Regions from separate parts of the Homo sapiens genome. Here region 1 is linked to region 2. The links are contacts of gene promoters, found by promoter capture Hi-C in blood cells and fetal thymus (Javierre and others, 2016). All regions are on one chromosome and are shown on one strand. The core of a region is centred on a gene start or on the middle of the fragment in contact, and the rest is flanking DNA. Distances in the headings are between cores, read along the strand shown. Region 1 has its middle 4.1 kb from the start of NR3C2. Region 2 holds the start of ARHGAP10 (Rho GTPase activating protein 10).

The links. Contacts are between HindIII fragments. The CHiCAGO score rates a contact against its expected background, and 5 or more counts as called.
Region 1: a fragment that was not itself captured here is called in contact with the fragment with the promoter of ARHGAP10 in region 2 in 1 of 17 cell types (total CD8 T cells); the score reaches 5.3 in total CD8 T cells.

The regions. Positions count from the first base shown.
Region 1 is chr4:148,443,233-148,449,866 of GRCh38, reverse strand. It overlaps a transcript of NR3C2 not described here. Among named protein-coding and RNA genes, the nearest start is that of NR3C2, 4.1 kb to the right of the region's middle. RefSeq lists silencers at 4,120-4,259, 5,020-5,069 and an enhancer at 5,230-5,319. The HindIII fragment of the contact is 261 bases long and covers 2,389-2,649 here.
Region 2 is chr4:147,727,134-147,733,589 of GRCh38, reverse strand. ARHGAP10 (Rho GTPase activating protein 10) reads right to left here and starts at 1,502. Exons shown (of 23, transcript NM_024605.4): 1 at 1,135-1,502. The coding sequence starts at 1,288. RefSeq lists enhancers at 716-785, 106-998, 999-1,891 and silencers at 896-975, 1,286-1,805. The HindIII fragment of the contact is 2,455 bases long and covers 649-3,103 here.

The DNA.
Region 1 (6,634 bases), core at 1,270-3,769, 720 kb before region 2:
ATGAAGCTTCTTACATTTTTTGTTTGCTGCTTCCAGTGTCATATATCTGACATGTGATAACCTCCCTCTATTAACTCTAATGTTAGGGAGAAGGTTTTATTCACTTTGGCTATCTACATGGCTATTCTTAACCTAGAATTATAGTGTCTGTTTCTGACACTGAACACACATTTTAAGAATTATCTTTTTAAATTATCTTTCTTATGTATACTTAGGCATCAGAAAATTAATTTTTGTTTTGTTTTGTTTTTGAGACAGGGTCTTACTGTGTTGCCCAGGCTGGAGTACGGTGGTGCGATTATGGCTTACTGCAGCCTCAACCTCCTAGGCTCAATCTATCCTCCTGCCTCAACTGCCCAAGTAGCTGGGACTATAGGTGCATGTCACCACACTCAACTAATTTTTTAAACTATTTTTTAGAGACAGGGTCTTGCTATGTTGCCCGGGTTGAGAAAATTAAAATATAAAAATTCAAGTGGACTCGTTTTATGTGGATACCTTATTGCCTGCCGCAATGCATTAATAATATTTTATATCACACTAACTTTTTTTATGGCTAAAGATTAAATCCTGAAGCATTTTTTTGCAATCATCTTTGCTAGAGTTTAAAAAATAGTGTTGACAAAGATGTTGTCTTAGTTGCTACTGACAGCTGTTAAAATGTTGCTAAAAATATAGTGCCAACTACTGAAAAGCTAACTGCTCCTGTGAAGTCCTAATGAGAAATTCTAAATGAGTGTTTCATCAAGTTCAACAGAGACTTACATTTCCCACACCTGACCCATTGGATTGTCTCACTTTTTTTGCGGTTGTTACTGTACATAATATTGCAGAAACAGCTTCAAGGCATAATTTTAATGAGCACACAAATCATGCAATTATTTATGTAAGATTAGCACAGTTATTTAAAGGTGATGAATTTCTTGTACTAAACCAAGAATATATGAAAAAAAGAGGAGAAATTGAAAATGTCTTTATTTTTATTAAAATATACTGCTCTAAGTTCCTCCCCTTTTTCAACTACTGTACATTATTTCTAAATTTAGAACATCAGTGTAGGCACGGTGAAATCTGATTTGCTTCTAATAATATGGCATACTAATTGTGATGCATGTGCTGTTTGGTGCTCTGTCATCTCAAAATCTGGCCATAAAAATGTATTAAGTTTGCATATTTTCTATTTAAAATGACTACAGATGGAATTAAGGTAGCCAGATGAATAAATAATAAGGTAAACAAATACAGAAATTAATGAATAACCAAAGCTAATACAAATATTCCAAGTAGTCTAGAAAATTGAGTTTGGGCTATTTTGGATATTAACAAAAACCCTGATATGTTTTGTATTTATCTTCTGGTCTACAATTTCTTATTTACTTGCAGTGTTTATAAACTGTAACATGTGTGCTTTGCAATAAACAAAGAAGAAGTTTTATCTTATATTATTCCTCTATTCATCTTCTCTCTCCAACACCCCCCTCCTTTCTCTTTCTGACTCTCCCTGTCTTTCTCAACTCTTTCCAACAGCTGGTAAGAGACTGAAAAAAAAAAAAAATCCCAGCTTTTTAGAAAGAAATAAAAAAAAATGCCAGCATGGCTAGGCTTATTAATGAAGTTAACTAGGACCAAATGCTTAGCCTTTAACTTTTAAAAATTATTGAATATGATTAAATTATATGATACCTATTGGTCTTTACTTTCTTGTCAGTAAATAGATAATGGAGAAGTACATAATACATTTCAACATATACATGTTCAATTTTTTTTTTGGCTTATAATTTTACAGCTTAACTCCATGGCTTTCCCCCCACCCCTCAGTGTCAGCTGTTGAAGGAATGGATTCGGAGCAGAGAACTAAGGGGTGGTTCTGCTAAAGCTGAAATAGAGAGCTAGGGAGGATTTTTTTCCAACACAAACTTAGATGATATTAGGCTTTGTATCTGAAGTTACATAATAGAGGATGTGATGTCACACATGTAAATTGCAAACGCTGAGTCGTGCACTTTAGTGGCAAACCTCAGGGAGTTTGACATTAATGGGATGGGGGGGAGGGAGGTGTCCTGAGGTTCAGCGACTGTGAATAGAGGGAGAGCAATTGTCAAAAGGGAGATGTCTGATGCTGCTTCAAGCTTTCAGCTATTTGGCAGCTACATAGGAGACGAAGTTAACGTCCTTTTCCGTACGATAATTCTCCCTTTTATTTTTCTTGAAAAAATTTCTATCCTTTTGCAAGGAAAAAATACACTTACATAAAAAGACGAAAGCAACAAACTTTGTTAAGGGACATCTCAGAAAACAACTAAATATTGACATTTACTAGGCACACATATTTCTGAGTTGATCGGGCTCTCTATGAATGGGCATTGGAATGAAGAGTATTCCTAAGCTTCTAAAAACCCATCTTCTTTGAAGAGATCCCTCTGAGGCATCACTTGTGGGGTGATTCCAAGCAAAACCAGTGCCACCTTCTCTTCAGATGAGGGAGACTCAGATCTTATCCCAAAGTTGTTCACTTTTCAGGGTGTCACAGGACCACCTTTTGTCTCTCAGCAGAGGAAAATATAAAAGTGGTTTACCCAGGGGAAACTTAATCATTCAAATATTTGGGCAAATGTTTAAAGACTCAGATACCAAAAAACAAATAAAGCTTTGCCTATTAATAATTGCAAGATCCCCTAACATCTCTCCCAAGGGGTAAGATAAGCTGATACTGTAAATAAGGGCAAATGGACTCCCCACAAGCTATTTTGTGAAAAAGTTTCAAAAGAATATCCATATCTGCTTAAAAATTCAATCTTAGCTTTGTAATACCAAACTGTTTTAAAAGCAGGGAAGATGAAAATTTGAGAACAGTTTGTGTGTGTGTGTGTATGTGTGTGTGTGTGTGTGTATGTATAAAATGGACAAAAGAAACACAGGAAGAAACCTTATAAATTTCTAAAATGTTGCAGTTATAATAACCCCACTGTACACCCTAATTTGATCAAATTGTCCTTAATTGAAATCATTGATTAAAATAGTGGTGGGAGTACCTAGCTTAAGAATTGTTATAGAAAATCATTTTGTAAAGGAGGAAACAATAATCAATGCCCAATTTGTAAGTTTTGGAAACAATTTACATTATATAGGTTACCTTAAGTGGGGGGGTTCTTTTTATCCAACATTGTGTTATGAAAAATTTCAAACACACAAAAAAGCTGAAGGAACTTTACAGTGAACACCTGTATACTTAGCACTTATATTCTACTATTAATATTGCATTATCAACATGTTTTATCACATATCTATCCATCCTTCTGTCCATTTTATCAATCCACCAATGTTGCTGCATTTTATTTTTGATGCACGCACTTCCAAATTAGTTTGCAGACATCAGTACACTTCCAAATGGTTCTTTTTAAAACTCACTGAATGTTATTTTTCAAAATATCTGATACGTAAATATTTTCTTGATCACCATCTTAAGATATACCTTAAGAATGCAGTAAATATGAACCTAGAAGCCTTTCCTACAAATAAGAAAAGCCAAAAGGTTGTTTTACTAGAGGCCAAATTGTTACCTTGAGCCAGCTAAGAACCGAGTCGTGCCAAAACTGTGTAGGTGATGGAGGCAATGGGAAGCTCGCTGTCAGGACAGTGGGAATGTGGAAGGAGAAAGGCAGTGATTGTTTTAACAGGGCACCTCGGTGTTTAACACGGGTCTATGTGGGAAGGGATTAGCAACTTTCACAGCTATTTAGGAATAAAACGGGAAAGAACCCAAAGAAGGGCGGGGGTGGAAGGGGGCAATAGAGCCTGCAGAAAAAGGAGTGTTAAGCCAGAAAAGGGGTGTGTGTGTGGTCAGTTGGTGGGGTTTAACTGAGTCAAAAGGGACCACAGCAGGGGAGCCGGTTAACTGGTAGTGACACTCACACTTCTCCCCCCTCCCAAACCCCCAATCTTCCATCTAAGGGTGTGTGTAACGGTGCGGGGGAAGAGTCTGGGGCAGAAGCGTACCTCGCACACGCGCGTGAACACGCGCGCACACACATGCACACGCATACATATCTCCTGACGTGGTGATCTCCGTGGCCGGGGTGGGGGCGTGGGACTCCGGGGAGGCTCCGCAGAGGGGCAGCGGGCGCGGGAGAATCCCGGGATCCGGGTTCACCCATCCATCCTCTGTCCCCTGCCGCGTGCCCGCGCGCCGCCGGCCGCCCGCCTGCCGGGCCCAGTCGCCCCCCTTTCACTTTCGCGTCTGCGTAGGTGTCTGCCCGAGCGGGCACGAGGGCGCGGGGGCGCGCCAGGAGACGCGGGGGCGCGCGGCGCGCCGCGAGCGGAGGAGGAGGGGTCCCGGCTCTCGGCCCCTTCCTCGGCTTGCCCCGCCGAGCCGCCTCCGCGGGCGTCTGAGCCGCCGTCAGAGCGAGGGGACCGGTCGCGACCGCAGCGCCCCAGCCAGCTCCCCGCACGCCTCCGCGCACAGACGCCCGCTCCCTCCTCGGCGCCCCCCCACGGCGGGGGTGGGGCAGAGGCGCGGCGAGCCCGAGAGGGGCGGGGAGAGGAGCAGCCTGGCGGGGTGGGCAGCCGAGGAGCAGGAAAAGAAAACTTTTCCCTCCCGCCCCCCGCGCGAGGTCCCCAGCCCTCGCCTCCCCCCGCAGGTGGGAACTGCACCTGAAGCCGGGCGCGAGGTCAGGGCCGGACTTTGGAGGGCTGCGGGCAGGGCTGAAGGGGGTGCGTGCATTTGGGCTCAGTTTTCCTTTGGCCTCCAGGTTGTCAGTGGCCGTAGTGGGAGGGCGGCTGCCGGCGCCCCTGCCCGTTTCCCACCCGCGGGTGGCCGGACGCGGTGCCGCCTCCTCCCGCTCGTGAGGGCGTGACCCGGGGAGGGGGGCGCAGGCTCCCCCTGCGACCGCCCCCTCACACACGCGCTCGGCCGCCGGAGCTGTCACCGGCCACCCAGGGCCCGGGGAGGGGGCGCGGAGAGTGGCGCTGCGGAGCGGCGGGCGCGGGATCCTCCTGCCGGACTTCCCGGCTCCCAGGGACGCCGCTGTCAACGCCGAGCGGACGCGCAGCCCCGGGAGAGGGGCCCGCCAGAGGCCCGGCCGCCGCCGCTGGGGGCGGGCGGGTGCCCGCGTCCCCCTCTGCGCGATTTGGCGCCGCTGCCTCGCCGCCTCTTGTAGGGTAACAGCACTATTGCTCTACCCACCGTCAGCAGGGCGACTGCCACTGCCGGGATTATCATCCTCTCCATCCTCACCGCCGATCAGCCAATATTGGACTTGCTGGTGGCGGCGGCAGCAGCGGCGGCGGGAGTCTAGCCGTTCCCCTTCCCCCGCCCCAGCCTCCCCACCATGTCCTAGAAAAGGTGAGTGCAGCGACAGTCACTTTGCGCTGACAGCGGCGAGAGGGGGTCCGGAGAGCGCAGGGGCGGCCCCGGGCAAGGCAGGTTGCGCGCCCAGGGCAGAGGGCGCGGGTTGGCGAGCGGAGGTGGGATGCGGGCAGGAGACGAGTTGCCCGCTGGCGGCCCTGGGGCAAGGGTGCTGGGTGGCGGGCGAGTGATCGCGGCGGCTGCCCCTGCACGGTTCTAACCTAGATTTTGCAAGAAGCTGAGATCCAGGGCAAGACCGGCCCTCCTCAAAGGAGATAAAAACTTAGTAAAAGAGACACGTCCATTCCTTTAATAATGAATAATTCGGCAACGCTTGCGGAGCCGCCGCCGCCTCGCGTGCCCAGGCTCTAGGTCCGGGACTCCCCTTGCTCCCGCCCGCCGCCCGCGCTCTGCCGACGTGAGATCGATGCCCAGTTCGCTGGGCCGGGAGAGTGCGCGTGACGGTGGGCCCCGCGGGAAAGTTGGGACGCTCGGCGGGGACTCCTGGCTGCGGGGACGCCGGGGGCAGCTCCAAGCTGGGGACCGAGGGGCATTAGAGTCTGGGGTCAGGACCAGCTCGCGGCGCTGCCGCTGTCGCCCCTATCTCCAGGGAGTTCCTGACTGGAGCGGCTGAGAGTTCAAGTCTCAGCCCTGGGTTAGGGGTCCGGAATCCCGGAGCTTAACTAACTGTTAAGGAGAGGAGGGGCCTTTGGGCACAGGGTGTCCCCCGGTCCCCCGCCTCGGGCTTTGGCGGGCGCGAAGCGAGGGTGAGGCGGGAGGCCGCACAGCTGCCGCCGCCGGGCTGCGGGTCGCCGAGGGCCGGGGGACCAGATTTAGGTGTATACGTCACTGATGCTGACTCCGGGCCAGCGGGGAGCCTAAAACGGGGCCTTACATGAGAAGCCTAAAAGTCCTTAGAAATCAAAGTTAGGAACCCCATCCTTTTGCTTAGTAACTGCAGCATTTGGGTGGGCGGGAGGAGAATCGAGGAGGGGGCGGTTGGAGGGAAACCGAAATTTCTTCATGCAGACAACCGATCCTTAGAAAACAGTTTGGTTCCTTCCCCCCTCCTGTCTGTTTCTCCCACTTATGTGACCCACCCCCTCCACCCATTATAACGTGAATATCCTCGATGGTAAGCTTGCTTTCAAATTGAACTAGTGGAAAAATCCAATACTAAAGTAGTAAGTACAGTGACAAAATTATAAGGAAGTAGAGGAGCAGCTCTTGACCCTGCCACTTCTTTCATTTATCTTTCTCTCTCTCTCTTTTTTTTTTTTTTTTTTTTTT
Region 2 (6,456 bases), core at 253-2,752:
TCCCCAGAGGTGGTATCTACAAACAAATGTACAAGGGACGAATACCTAAGGCTGAGAATTACTGAACTGAGAATCTAGGTGAGTGATGAAGGCCCTAAGAACCCAGCCCCTCAAGGCTGGATACTGCCCAAGTCCCTGTCTGCTGTATGGACAGGTCTTTTAAAGGGGGAAAGGGGACATTCACCGCCATCCTCCGAAGGGGTTATGGATCCAAGGGATGGTCAGGCTGCCCAGCTCCTCACTGGGGCTAATTCCGCCCCATTTTCCAGTAGCATCACTAACTCAGTATTTCTGCATGAATTTTGGCCCCTTCTCTCCTAGAAAGACTCTCCTCAACTACACTAAAATACAGTTATCTCTCCTGTATCTCGTGTCTTCTTCCGAGTTTAAGAGACAGAAGTTCAGGGGAGGAAGGCACCAAGCCTAACCGGGGTGGAATTCCCTATTTGCAAGCAGTGCCCGCCTAGGCTAGAGGGCAGGCTGTCCGCTCACCCTTCCAAACCCCAATCTTTGAACCCTCCTCAGCACGGCAGGGGAGGAATGTGCGGAAGCAGCATAAAGCCAGGTGGACTTTCTGGTTTGGCACGTGAAGGACCTGGAACAGGACTGTCGGGGAAGATCAGACAATGAGAGGGAAAAGGTGAAGCTTAAGGGGACTCTGGAAAACTCAACACTCCCGCAGGGTTTCAAAGAATCCCCAAGAAATTTCTTTTGAGAAGTCACAAAACAAAACTAGGCAAACAGATGCCTCGGTTTTGTAAGAGATTGTGAGTAGCTTTAGGCAGCAATGAAACCTGACTCCGGGCCAGGAGTGCCTAGGGTCGGTCCAGCGGAGCGCGCATTCAGCGAGGGGTGTTCGGCCGGGGCCAGGCGGGGCCCAGGCGGGGCCCGCTGGCAGCTGGTTCCCGCCGCCGCAGAGCCGCAGGGGCGGGAATGGGGACTCGCCGCGCTGCCTCGAGGAGGAATGATTCCAGGGACCCCCCGGGGTTCCGAGAGAGCTGGGCTGGTCCGGAATGAATTCCCCGTTCCTCTGGCTGCTGGCCCCGGACACAAGACCCTCCGTCTCCTGCCGAGAGAGGCTCCCCCAGCCGCCTCGCCACGCCGCAGCCCGTCCGCGCCCGCGTCCCCGCTTACTTTTCGTCGCAGCGATGAGGTTCTTCCCGTCCTTAATGAGCTCTTTGATGAACTTGTTGGTCCTCTCGAGTTCCGCTTCGTGAGCGCGGATCCTCTCCCGGAACCACGGGCTGTCGAGGTAGCAGTCGCTGAACTCCAGGGGCTGCAGCCCCATGACGGCAGCGGTCGCTGCGCGGTGCGCACGGCCGCGCGCTCCTGCCCGAGCCGAGCTCCGAGGCCGCTGCCAGGTGCGGCGCCGCGCGTTCAGGGAGCACAGAGGAGCTAGCAGGCCCGGGCGCGCGGCGAGCGCGGCACGGACATGTCCCGTAGAGCCGAGTCCTGCGGCGCGGAGGAGCTGCCACCGAGACCAGCGCTAGCTGCGGCGCCCCAATCCCGGCAGCCCCCGCCGAGCTCTGAGCGCCCGCGGCCCCGCCCCGCCCGGCCCCCGCGCGGCAGACACTCCCCGAGGCGCCACCCGGCCGGGCCCGCGCTCCCGCTCGTCCCCTTCTCTTTCCTCCGCCTTCCTTCTTCCTCCCTTCCCTTCCCTGGACGCCTCTTCCTTCTCTTCCCCACGCGCAGCTGCCCCTCCTCTTCCTTCCGAGGCGTCCTGGGGCTAGAATTTCGCCCCGCGGCTCCCCTCCACCCTGGGCGCTCTCCCCTCCCCTTTGCTTGGGCTCCCGGGGCCGGGGTGACTCACAGTCGGCTCCCCGCTGCACGGAACCCGACCGGGACCGAGAAGGAGCGTCTTAATTGCAGTCGTTAGTCCCCGCAGGCGGGCGACATAACTCTGAAGTGGCTGCCTTGCAGGAGATGATTAACTCATTTATCTCATTTATCCTGGGACGCCCCCAACCCCGAGCTGGGAACGAACTCGCACAGGGGGCTCTTTTCCTTATCCCGGTTCCTTTCCCAGTTTAAAGTGAGATGCGTGGTAAATCTCCGCTTGAGATCGAAGCCTTACAATGGCAAGAGCGTTTTCTTGGTGGCCCAGCAGCTCCTATTACACTTCTCTGCGTATCCGCACTAAATAACTTAGTTGAAGAGAGAGGGCTGGCTAAACCACAGAAAAGTTGTTTCTGTTGTGTTCAGCACATTAAATTTGCTGGGGTAGGTGAAGACGATCTTTATTATTCTAAAAATAACTACCGGAAAACATGCCAGGTAACGTGTGGTTTTCACCGCGTGGGGGTGACGATCAATGAGAATTTATGTCAGTGCCCTCAAAAAGCCTATTTTGTGTGTTATGAAACAACTCCAGTGTGTCCCAAAAAAAGTTAGGCATTTTAAAGTATTAAAATGTATACCTTAGGCCGGACGTGGTGGCTCACGCCTGTAATCCCAACACTTTGGGAGACGGAGGCGGGTAGATCACCTGAGGTCAGGAGTTGGAGACCAGCTGGCTAACATGGTGAAACCCCGTCTCTACTTAAAATACAAAAAGTACCCGGGTGCGGTGGCACGTGCCTGTAGTCCCAGCTGAGGCAGGAGAATCGCTTGAACCCAGGAGGCGGAGGTTGCAGTGAGTCGTGATGGTGCCACTGCACTCCAGCCTGGGCGACAGAGCGAGACAATGTCTCAAAAAAAAAAAAAAGTATTTCTTAAAAAAAAACACTAATAGTTCATTAGAGTAACGTTTCATAATCGCAATTTATTAAGCAATTATTATGTGCCGGGCACCCACTAGGAACTCCATACATCTACAAACTCGCGATATAGACTTACATGATATGATGGTAATATTAACGAGAAACTTCAAAGTAATTCCTCAAGACGTTCAGACTCTCAGCTGGGTAATTAAGAATCTGTTTGGACAGCATGTTGTAGGAGGGTAACCCTCCCGAACAAGTTAAATAAGCCTCCTACTCAATAAGCCCTTTTGTTACAAAACAGCACCAGGAGTGCCTAACCCACAGATAAACATTATTACTCTAATGTCCATCCTCCAGAGAGTTCAAAGTGTTTTACAAATAACTTTTAGGCGGTGAAAGCTTCAGTTCCTACTAAAACCAGCAGGAGACTGGAGTCTACAGAAAAGAGAATAAAAGAGGCAAATAAAGGGGAAGAAAGACAAGAAGAGAGGGGGTGTAAACAAAAATGAGGGCCTAGCGAAACAGCCAAGCACTGACCACACTCAATCCTCAGAGCAGAAACCCAAACCTTTTCTCATAGAGGGGCTGCTGAGACTTCTTCAATATTGAACATGGAGGTTACCGTGTGACCCAGCAAGTCCACGCTTAGATATATACCCAAAAGAAATGAAAATATATGTCCACGCAAATATTTACACACAAATATTCATAGCAGCATTATTCGTAATAGCCAAAAAGTAGAATCAACCAAAATGTCCTTTGTCAGCTGTGTAATGGATGCACAAAATGTTTGTCCATAAAATGAAATATTAATCTACAATAAAAAGGAATGAAGTACTGACACGTGCTACGGCACAATAACGGTGAAAACGTTATACTAAGTAAAAGAACCTAGCTGCAAAAGGCCAATACTATCTACTTATATTAAATGTCCAAAACAGGTAAATCTATAGAGGCAGAAAGATTAGTGGTTGCTAGAGACTGGGGGATAGAGTGGAGGGTATATGTAGTCAGGAGTTTATTTTCAGGGTGATGAAAATTATTAATATTTTTATTTTTCATAGAGATAGGGTCTCACTATGTTGCCCAGGCTTTTCTCAAACTCCTTAGTTCAAATGATGCTCCCACCTTGGTCTCCCAAATTGCTGGAGTTATGGGAGTGAGCCGCCGAGCCTGGCCGAAAACAATTTAAATTTACATTTTGGTAATGGTTGCACAATTCTGAATATACTCAAAATCACTTAATTGTATGTGATAAATGGGTGGATTTCTTTTGGTCTGTGAAATATATCTCAATAAAAAATTTTTTTTAAGATGAACTACTCTAGAACTGCTTCTCCTTTACCACATTAGACTTCAAGCCGTAAAAACTCTGGTTTATTCAGTGTGCCCAGTTCTTTAGATATTTGGAGAAAAAAAAAAGTTGTTTAAAACAATGTCAAAACATCATAAAAAATATTACTTATCACTTCACACACATGTACACCCAGTGTTAAAGAGCTAGTGAATATGAATCTTAATTCATTACCAAATAGGTCCACAATAATTACCATGAGTGGAGGGGCCTGATTAATTTTGTTTTATTCAGCTATGCCTATGCAGTGTCTGGTATACAAGTGATCAGTAAATGTGGAATGAATAAGTATAACTAACTGAAGAGAAATCTCTGTACAGTGGACAGTGGAAAGATAGATATTTAGTAGTTCCAGCTCCAGCTTTACTACTTAACAGTTGTGCAACCTTAGCAAAGGTAATTTTCTGTAAACCTCAGACTTACCATCAGTGAAATGGAGATGATGACATTGCAGCTGCAGGTTGCTTGAGAAGATTTAATGAAATTGTGTTTGTAAAGTGCCTGCTGAAAATTATGATAATAATGAGACTCAAGGAAGAAGGAAGTGTGGAGGATGGGCTGAAGAGAGGGATGAGGGAGAGGAGGAGACAGATTACATTCCATCAATGTGGGAAAGATTTTCGGGGCAGGAGAGCCCTTAAATCATGGTTTTAAACCATGTAAGACAGAACTCAAGAAAAGTGGCCACAAAAGCAGATGCTACTGAGTTTCCAGGTTTCATCTTAATTAATCAATTATTCCCACAAATATTTACTGATCATTTATATGTATTAGGCACCGTATTAGGTGCTCATGATGCAGCAGCACACAAAACAGTCCTCACCGTGCTTTTGGTCTCTGGGGGAGACTGGCCTCATCCCAAAAAAAAAGAAAAAGAAAAATCACACACATATATATCCAATTGAAAATTGAAGCACCATGCAGTTAAAGTGAAGGGTGTGTGAGAGATTATAATTGGAACACCTGATGGAGATTGGGGCTGGGTCAAGGAAGGCCTCATTGAGGAAGTGATATGAAAATGATAATTTAATCAATGACCAGGAATATCAGTAGGAGTTAACTGTTAAATAGGGGTAGGAACAGAGTAGTACAGACATGGGACCAGCTTGTGCAGGCCCCTGAGATGGCACACTCAAGAGATGAACAGGTCGGTGGCTGAAGCCCAGTGAGAGAGACTGGCTCACAACTATGCCAGGTGGTGGAGGATAGGCAGGGTCAGATGGTGCAGAGCCTCTAAGTCTTATTTAGGATTTGGGACTGTATCCCAACACTGTTGGGAGCCTTTAAAGAGTTTTATGCATGTAGTAAAATGATCCGGATTGTGTTTTCTCTCTAGCTGCTGTGTGGAGAATGGAAATCCAGACAGAAGGTGGTTGGAGTTGTCTGGGCAAGAAATGGAATAGCTCAATCCTCCAAGGTGACCCTCCAAGGAAACAGCGAGAAATAGACAGAAATGAAGTATATTTTAGAAGGAGATTCTGGGACTTGACAATAGCCTGGATATTGGAAATGAGGAAGAAGGGGTCAGCGGTGGCCCCCAGGCTTGTGGCATGGTAAGTTAGGTGGATGGATATGCCACTTACTGAAAGGATAACATGAGGTAAGAAGCTGTCATGGCAGTGTTGGTGATGACTGGGTTGGAAGGATGCGTTTCAGTATAAACTCATGAAATGTTTGAGATGCCTGGGAGACATTCAAGTACTTAAGTCATGTAGGCACTGACACCCAAATGGCATTTTTATGCTTTACTCAGTGCTTGGATTAGTTAGGGATTTGAATCAATGCAAGCTGGTCAAGTTTCAGTCTACATGAAATAGAGGTTAACAGATAGGAAACCTTCCCTTGATGTAGGTTCTGCTGCATACCATACTGTAGTTTTTGTGTTGTGATGACTCACAAAGTACCTACCTGTAAAGTTAAATATGGGTCTACTGAATCCTTGGATATGTTTCAGGTTGTGAGTCAGAATTAGGTTCAGACACATTATAACAGAAAATCCAAAATCACTGGTTTTTAAACCATAAGGGGTTTAGATTTCCCTCTCTCTCATAAAAAGGAGTCCATGATTCCAGAGTCCCCAAGGAAGCACTGGCTTCCATCCTCAATGTCACCTCATGGTACAAGATGGCTCCTAGAGGTCCTTCTGGGAGGAAAGAAGGGAAAGGATAGAAGGGCCCCTGTCCTCACTGAATCAGCTTCTTTTCTCAGCATTCCTGTGCATCTCACACAACATTTTATTTTTTATCTCATTGACCAGATCTTAATCAAATGGCCACACCTCACTGCAAGGGAAGATGAAAAATGTGGTCTTTTTCCCGGGTACATAAGTGAAATGTGAATTTTCCTACAAAGAGAAAAGGGATAGTAGATTTTGAGCAGGAACCTAGCAGTCTCTGCTGC